Linked DNA regions of Homo sapiens: all the other regions are linked to region 1. The links are contacts of gene promoters, found by promoter capture Hi-C in blood cells and fetal thymus (Javierre and others, 2016). All regions are on one chromosome and are shown on one strand. Each heading gives the region's core, a stretch centred on a gene start or on the middle of the fragment in contact. The rest is flanking DNA. Distances are from core to core; before and after follow the strand shown.

Region 1 (2,741 bases), core at 128-2,627:
GACTGATGAGCCCCATGTTTTTTTGCTGGTGGTGGTCACAGGGCAGGGACTCTGGCAGCTAGAGGGGCTGTATTTTTAATTTCCTCTGTTACTGCCCTGCTCACCAAATGTCTGGGTGAGGAATACAGTCCTGCCCCGTATAAGCACGAACACTCATGGCTTTATTTATTTATTTAGAGAAGGAGTCTCACTCTGTTGCTCAGGCTGGAGTGCAGTGGTGTGATCTTGGCTCACTGCAACCTCCGCCTGCCTTGTTCAAGCAATTCTCCTCCCTCAGCCTCCCGAGTAGCTGGGACTACAGGCACGCGCCACCACACCTGGTTAATTTTTGTATTTTTAGTAGAGACGGGGGTTTCACCATTTTGGCCAGGCTGGTCTCAAACTCCTGGTCTCAAGTGATCTGCCACCCTCAGCCTCCCAAAGTGCTGGGATTACAGGCGTGAGCCACTGCGCCCAGCCCACTCATGGATTTAATGAGAGAGACTGCAAACCATCATGAGCAGGGGCCTAAATCCCCGAGAGGGAGAGGAGAGGATGCAGCCCCACAGCGAGCCCTCCTCCTGTACTCAGGCCCAGAGGACTCTGTTCTGGGGAAGGGTCTATGGGACCAGAGCTGACTTTCTACCCTAAGAGGATGCCTTTTGTGGCAAAGGCTGGACTCAGCCTTGGATACTCACTTATTGGGGTGTGCCCTTGGGTAAGGGCCTTAAAACCTCACTGTACCTTAGTACCCACAACCGCGAATGGACCCAAATATTTCTGGCTGCTCTGGCTCCTCACAGGGTGGTCATGAGAAAACAGACGCCAGAATGCCTTGCGAGGCTAGATTGCAAAGCTCCAGGAGGATTTCATTCCCTGGAGTGTCCCAGCACCTAGAACAGTGCCTGGCGCAAAGCAGGCGGCCAGCAAATGCTGCTGGGTGAACAAAATCTCTGGGGCGTGTTCGGGATCTGGCTGTGCTATGGTCGCGCGCCAGACCCACCCTGGACATGGCTTCACTCATTCTTTTGGAAGTTCAGTGAAGTACAGGCTATGGTTCCCATTACCCAGAGGTGGAAACTGAGGCCCAGAGAACATGAGGAAACTTTGATGGAGTCACAGACAGTGTCTCCGCCGGAATCCAGGTCGATGGGGACCCCAAAAGCGGGTTTGGTGGAAGGAACTGGCAAAAGGGTGGGGAGCATCAGGGACTGACCCTGAGAGCGCTGGGCTCGCGGGCAGCTCCAGGGTGGGGGTCCCCTCCCCTCTTGGCTCCCTCACCCTCCCTGTCCCTCCAGCACCTGCGTCCCTCCCTGGCCCGCGTCCGGGCTTCGCTCACCTGGCCCGGGCTCCCGCGGCGCTGCGTGCTCCCCGCGCTGCGCCAGTCTCCGCGCCGCCAGGGCCACCGGGCCACCTCCTTCTCCCGAGGAGGGCAGAAAGGGGCGGGGCGGGGCGGGACGAGGCATCCGGACCGCCCCCCGCCCGCTCTTCTGCCCGCCCACTCCCGGCGCGGGAGCACCTGCATTCTCTCAGGTGGAGACCCGCGGGCTCTCATAGAGGGGAAACTGAAGCCAGTAGGGCTGGGATGGGCGAAATGGTCCACGCTTCTTGTGGGAAAAGACGCAAAGGCCCTGCGTGCCGGGCTCTGTCCTGCAGGCCAAGTCGTCCTAGAACCCCAAGAAAAAGGGTTTCATCTATATGTAGGAGCAGAATTGCTGGGTCATATGATTACTCTGTGTTTAGAGAAGAACCGCCAAACTGTTTTCTAAAGTAGCTGTACCATTTTACAATCCTACCAGCAGTGTATAGGGTTCCAATACTTCCGCATCCTTACCAACACTTATTATTATATCTATGTTTAAAATTTTAACTATTCTACTGGGTGTGAAGTGGTGTCTCATTGTGGTTTCATTTGAATTTCCTGATAGCTAATGCTGCTGAACATGTTTTCATGTGCTCATTGGCACATTAATGTGTTTTCTTTGGAGAAGTGTCTGTTCAAATCCTTTGCTCATTTTCAGTTGAGTTATTTGTTGACTTTTAAGAGTTCTTTGTATATTCTGGATACAAATCCTTCATCAGATAAATGATTTGCAAATATTTAAACAAAAACAAAAAACCAAAAAAGTTCTTCCATCATCCATCCTTCCACCTATCCATCCATCCTTCCATCCATCCATCCTTCCACCTATCCATCCAACCTTCCATCCATCCATCCTTCCACCTATCCATCCAACCTTCCATCCATCCAGCCTTCCACCTATCCATCCAGCCTTCCACCTATCCATCTAACCTTCCATCATCCATCCTTCCACTTATCCATCCAATCTTCTCCCTGACCATCCTTCTGCTTATCCATCCAACCTTCCATCCATCTGTACTTCTACCTGTCCATCCAGCTTTCCATCCATCTTTATTTCAACCTGTCCTTTCCATCCATCTGTATTTCAACCTATCCATACAACCTGTCATCCATCCATTCTTAAACCTGTCCATCCAACCTTCCATCATCTATCCTTCCACCTATCCATCCAAATTTCCATCCATCCAACCTTCCACCCATCTAATTCATTACATATATCTTTCTTTCCTTGCTTCTACCCATCTATCTACTCTCCCTGTCTTGCAATCTTCCACTTATCTCTGTTGATTTATGCATCAATCACATCATTCTATTTTGATGGGTGCTTCTTCAGTGCTGGATCATATCATCCTTTGAAAACTCATGTTCAGCTGGGTGTGGTGGCTCATGCCTGTAATCC
Region 2 (2,741 bases), core at 78-2,577, 200 kb after region 1:
CTGAGGCTGAAGGTCAGCTACTTCCCAACGACGAAATTCTGGTGCTGTGGTGACATTGAGCAGGAACTCCATTAGAATATCACTACAGAAGACATCGAGATAAGAATTATGAGTCAAAAATGTAAAGCCAACATTTGAGATTCTACATAGCTGTAATGCTCTCAATGTGAAACTTTAGGTCTTGTGGTAAGCAGTGTTTTTGAGCAGTTTATGAACAATAATCCAAAATGGAAGTCAGAGGTCATAATGACGCATTACAAAGACCAGAAGTGAGCAGCTTAGTATTTCTTTCAAAGCAGAAGTCCTAAACACACACAGGTACTTACACATCACCCCGCAGGCATTCCACAGTATAAGCCATGTTTTCCCTTGTTGCGGTCACACTGAATCGGAAAATAAACTAGAGTAAATCATCTGAATCAGGATAGTAAGCTTTCCCTTATAATCTTCTATCAACCAATTCCTTTGGAAAGAAAATTTCTGAAGTATAAAAGGTGCGAACAATAATATAACAAAACTCCACATATTAACCAACTAAAATTCAAAATTTTTTTAAAAACCAGCAAATAATTCAACCTTAAAAGGAGTGAAATCTGGTCACATGTTACAACACAGATGAACCCTGAGGACATTATGCTAAGGATAATAAGCCAGTCACAAAGGGACAAATATTGTATGATTCTACTTATGAGGTACCTGGAGTAGTCAAATTTGTAGAGACTGAAAAGAGAATGGCAGTTGCCAAAGGCTGAGGGGAGGGGAGAATGAGCAGCCATTGTTTAACAGGTACAGAATTTCAGGTGGGAGAAGATAGAAAAGTTCCGGAGCTGAATGTTGGTGATGGTTGCTGAATGCCACTTAACTGCACACTTAAGAAAATGATAAATTTGGGCCGGGCGCAGTGGCTCACACCTGTAATCCCAGCACTTTGGGAGGCCGAGGTGGGCGGATCACTTGAGGTCAGGAGTTTGAGACCAGCCTGGCCAACAGGGTGAAACCATGGTCTCTACTGAAAATACAAAAATTAGCCAAGCATGGTGGCGCACGCCTGTAATCCCAGCTACCACGGAGGCTGAGGCAGGAGAATCGCTTGAACCCAAGAGGCGGAGGTTACAGTGAGCCAAGATCATGCCACTGCACTCCAGCCTGGGCGACACAGCGAGACTGTCTAAAATATATATATATATATATATATATATATATATATATATATATAAATTTTATGTTATATACATTTGACCACAATTTTTTAAAATGGCAAATAAAGTTGAAGATCTTTTCGTACCCTTCCAAGACCAATTCCCTCACTCTCTCCCACTCTGGAAACCACAATCATAAGCACTACATAGTATTTTTCTGCTTAAAAAATTAAAATACCTTAAAGAAATCTTGAAACTTGCTTGTTCACACTCTATTTTGCCCTTCAGTTGTGCTATGTTGACGTATGGATCTAGTTCATTCCGTAATGGCTGTATAGTGGTCTCATCATGACTCTGTCATACTTTACCCATTTCCCTAAAGATGGACACTTAGATCGTTTCCAGTCTTTATAAAGAATACCTTTGTGAATGTGATTAAAAACTGTGGGGTTTTTCAATATTACCAGATATTCCTTGATTCTTTCCTAAGTGGTTGTATCAATTTATACTCCTATCAGCAGAATGAGACATTCTCTATCATCTTTACCACTGACAACACAATATATAAAAAATCTGGGCTGGGTGCAGTGGCTCACATCTGCAATCCCAGCATGCTGGGCTGAGGTGAGAGGATCACCTGAGGCCAGGAGTTCAAGACCAGTCTGGGCAACATAGTGAGACCTCCATTTGTACAAAAAATAAAAAATTAGCCAGGCATGGAGTCATGTGCCTATAGTCCTAGCTACTTGGGAAGCGGAGGGAGAAGAATCGCTTGGGCCCAGGAGTTCAAGGCTGCAATAAGGTATGTCTGCACCACTCCACTCCAGCCTGGGAAACAGAGCAAGACCCTGTCTTTAATATAAATTAATTAAAAAAAAAGAAATGCTGTTTCTGTCCTGAGTGTTCCACTGACCAGCTGCTCCCCAAGTCTTTCTCCCTCTCTTTGGATATTCCTACTCCTGAGACACAACAATATTGAAATTAAGCTAATGAATAACCCGACAATGGCCCCTAAGTATACAAGTGAAAGGAAGAGTCTCATGTCTCTCACTTTAAATCAGAAGCTAGAAAGGATTAAGCTTCTAAGGAAGTCAGGAAGGCATGTTAAAAACGGATACAGGTCAAAAGCTAGGCCTCTTGCACCAGTGCAGTTCTTGAAGAAAACTAATAGTGCTACTCCACTGAACACATAAATGATATGAAAGCAAGACAGACTTATTGCTGATAATACAGAGTTTTACTGGTCTGGATTAGATCAAACTGTATTCCCTTAAGTCAAAGCTTAATCCAGAGCAATGCCCTAACTCTCTTCAATTATATGAAGGCTGAGAGAGGTGAGATGCAGAAGAAAAGTCTGAAGCTAGCCGTGGTTAGTTCATGAGCTTTAAGGAAAGAAGCCATCTTCTTAATATAATAGTACACAGTGAAGCAGCAAATGCTAATATAGAAGCTGCAGCACGTTATCCAGAAGATCTACATAAGATCATCGATGAAGGTGGCTACACTAAACCACAGATTTTCAATGCTGACAAAACAGCCTTACATTGGAAGATGCCGTCCAGGACATTCGTAGCTAGAGAAGTCAATGCCTGGCGTCAAAGC
Region 3 (2,741 bases), core at 125-2,624, 180 kb after region 1:
CTTTGCCGCCTTTAAAGAAACAAACAAAAGACAAAATTAACAAAAATAAAAATATATATCATCAAGCAGGCGAACTTATTTTGTCATTTCAAGAATTTATGGATAGGACATTCTTTTTTTTTTTTTTTTTTTTGAGGTGGAGTCTCGCTCTGTCACCCAGTGTGGAGTGCAGTGCTGCGATCTTGGCTCACTGCAGCCTCCGCCTCCCAGGTTCAAGCAATTCTCTGCCTCACCCTCCCAAGGAGCTGGGATTACAGGCATGTATCACTATGCCCAGCTAATTTTTGTATTTTTAGTAGAGACGGGATTTCGCCATGTTGGCCAGGCTGGTCTCAAACTCCTAGCCTCAAGTGATCCACTCACCTTAACCTCCCAAAGTGCTGGGATTACAGGCGTGAGCCACCAACCTGGCCTTCGATAGGACATTCTAAGCCAGCAATTACTATAATAGCTGTTGTGAAAATTAACTAGGAGATGGCTGGTGCTTTAATTTGGGACAGTGTGGGAGGAAAAGCTTAGCTGTTTCTCTGAAAGTCCCATTGTATGTGTAATGAACCAAGCAAGAGCAACACTGGTAAGAGGGTAGCTGTTCAAAGAGAGATAAGGAAAACAACACTGACACTGTCAAATAGAGTAGTGTGGCTTCAGGCAGGGATATACTTTCCTGTTTCGGTATTACAATGGCAAATAGTCTGGGTCAATAAAAATACATTGATTGTTAACTTAAAAGTAAAACTTGATACCCTAGAGGATTCTTTATGCCACTACTTCCAAGTTCAAAGGCTGGTTAAGTGTAGTATCATGAGTCAGGTGTAGGTGGAGCAGCAGCCCCCATATTCTGTCAGGCCAGCTTATCTTATTACTATGAAGGAGAGGTGGTGGTGGAAGCAGTCGGGTTGGGACGCACATAATGATAGGATATAAGATGAAGACAGCCATTTAAAAGAGTACCAAATGGGCTGGGCGCGTTGATTCACACCTGTAATCCCAGCACTTTGGAAGGCTGAGGCGGGTGGATCACGAGGTCAGGAGATCGAGACCATCCTGGCTAACATGGTAAAACCCCGTCTCTACTAAAAATACAAAAAATTAGCCGGCCGTGGTGGTGGGCACCTGTAGTCCCAGTTACTAGGAAGGCTGAGGCAGGAAAATGGCGTGAACCCGGGAGGCGGAGGTTGTACTGAGCCGAGATCGCGCCACTGCACTCCAGCCTGGGCAACAGAGCAAGACTCCGTCTCAAAAAAAAAAAAAAGAAGAGTATGAAATGACGATTGGGGCGAAGTGAAATCAAGTCAGGGTTACTATCTTAAAATAGCCTTGTCTCTTTTTTATTTGAGACAGGGTCTCACTCTGTTGCCCAGCCTGGAGTACAGTGGCATGATCTCGGCTCGCTGCAACCTCTGCCTCCCAGGCTCAAGCCACCTTCCCACCTCAGCCCCATGAGCTCCTGAGTAGCTGGGACTACAGGCGCATGCCACCAAGCCTAGCTAATTTTTGTACTTTTTTGTAGAGATGGGGTTTTGCTACATTGCCCAGTCTGGTATTGAACTCCTGGGCTCAAGCAATCTGCCCACCTCAGCCTTCCAAAGTGCTGGGATTACAGGAATGAGCCACTGCACCCAGCTTAGTTTTTTATTTTTTCTTATCCCCACTGTCCCTATACAAGGTAGACCTGTTGGTGAGAAGATGGCCGAGACATCTACAGTAGAAAGCAAGTTGGCAAGTTTAATGTAGAAAATGGGGAAAACCCACTTACTTTGGATTAATTCTGTAGGTCATGTGCTTGTTAGGCACAGCAGGGAACACAAAGAAGTACATGACATAGTCCTTGCCCTCAAAACAGCTCAATATTGTAGGGAACAATAATATATGTGAAAAAAAAATTAGCAAGAACAAGAGAATGTCCTAGGCTGAGAAGAGTAAAGAAAATCTTAAGATGCTAGATGGTGAAATATTGCTAGGACTGAAGAGGAAAAATAGCAAACTTCACTATTTAGGTTGGATCATATGAAACTGCTAATATTTGACTCTTCTTTACTTCTAGTCATCTAACATAAGCCCATTTTATAAACTACCATTAGTTTAACCTAACGTTTGATACGTTAGGTGTATTAAATGCACTTTTGACTGCCATCTCAGTGGATGGCAGCCCTCTTACTGACATCACAGTTTAACCTAATGGTAGTTTATTTGAAGGAGGAAGATACATATACTCGAGCTGACAGGGAAGCTTGTTGCGGATCTTATGGGAATGAGCCCTCCTGCCTCCACATTAAGTAGATGAGCACCAAACATAAGAATAATACACTGCCCAAGGACGCTTATGCATCCTTCTGAAATTGGATCATTAAGGTTAAGTTCTCTGTTGTTAAATCGTTAAGTTTTCATTTACTTACATTTATGATATCAGCATTAGCCACTGAATCAATCTGCTGAAGGACTGTGGATGGTGGCATGTAAGAACCAGCAACTAGAGCCTGGGACCCGACTTCTTCCAGGAAACACTCAGAAGACTCCACTGACATTAGGTATCCAGCTTTCAGCTTGTTCCTGTCCAATAAAAGGCAGAAGTCAGTTTTAGAGAGCAAGGCAATTATTTTTTTTTTCTGAGTGGTGGCGGGGGGCTGTGAACATCAAAGCTTTATTTAATGGATAGAGTAACAGCGTGTCTCCCTCTTCCTGAATTCCCCAAGAAGAATGCCACTCCCTTCTCTGGAACATACTAAAACAGTAAGTCTGAA

Evidence for each region. The method cuts DNA at HindIII sites, captures the fragments that hold promoters and counts their contacts. A CHiCAGO score of 5 or more calls a contact.
Region 2: a contact is called between a fragment that was not itself captured here and the fragment with the promoter of SDR42E2 in region 1, in 2 of 17 cell types (megakaryocytes and naive CD4 T cells). The highest score is 5.3, in megakaryocytes.
Region 3: a contact is called between a fragment that was not itself captured here and the fragment with the promoter of SDR42E2 in region 1, in 7 of 17 cell types (total CD4 T cells, non-activated CD4 T cells, M0 macrophages and 4 more). The highest score is 8.0, in total CD4 T cells.

The regions. Positions count from the first base shown.
Region 1 is chr16:22,161,142-22,163,882 of GRCh38, reverse strand. It overlaps SDR42E2 (short chain dehydrogenase/reductase family 42E, member 2), which reads right to left and starts at 1,377. Exons shown (of 13, transcript NM_001394319.2): 1 at 1,319-1,377. The HindIII fragment of the contact is 17,104 bases long and covers 1-2,741 here.
Region 2 is chr16:21,960,102-21,962,842 of GRCh38, reverse strand. UQCRC2 (ubiquinol-cytochrome c reductase core protein 2) reads right to left here. Exons shown (of 14, transcript NM_003366.4): 5 at 327-383; 6 at 1-82. It also overlaps a transcript of PDZD9 not described here. Among named protein-coding and RNA genes, the nearest start is that of UQCRC2, 8.1 kb to the right of the region's middle. The HindIII fragment of the contact is 1,786 bases long and covers 435-2,220 here.
Region 3 is chr16:21,980,356-21,983,096 of GRCh38, reverse strand. UQCRC2 (ubiquinol-cytochrome c reductase core protein 2) reads right to left here. Exons shown (of 14, transcript NM_003366.4): 13 at 2,397-2,550; 14 at 1-9. It also overlaps a transcript of PDZD9 not described here and the pseudogene LOC100420644. Among named protein-coding and RNA genes, the nearest start is that of PDZD9, 19 kb to the left of the region's middle. The HindIII fragment of the contact is 1,716 bases long and covers 517-2,232 here.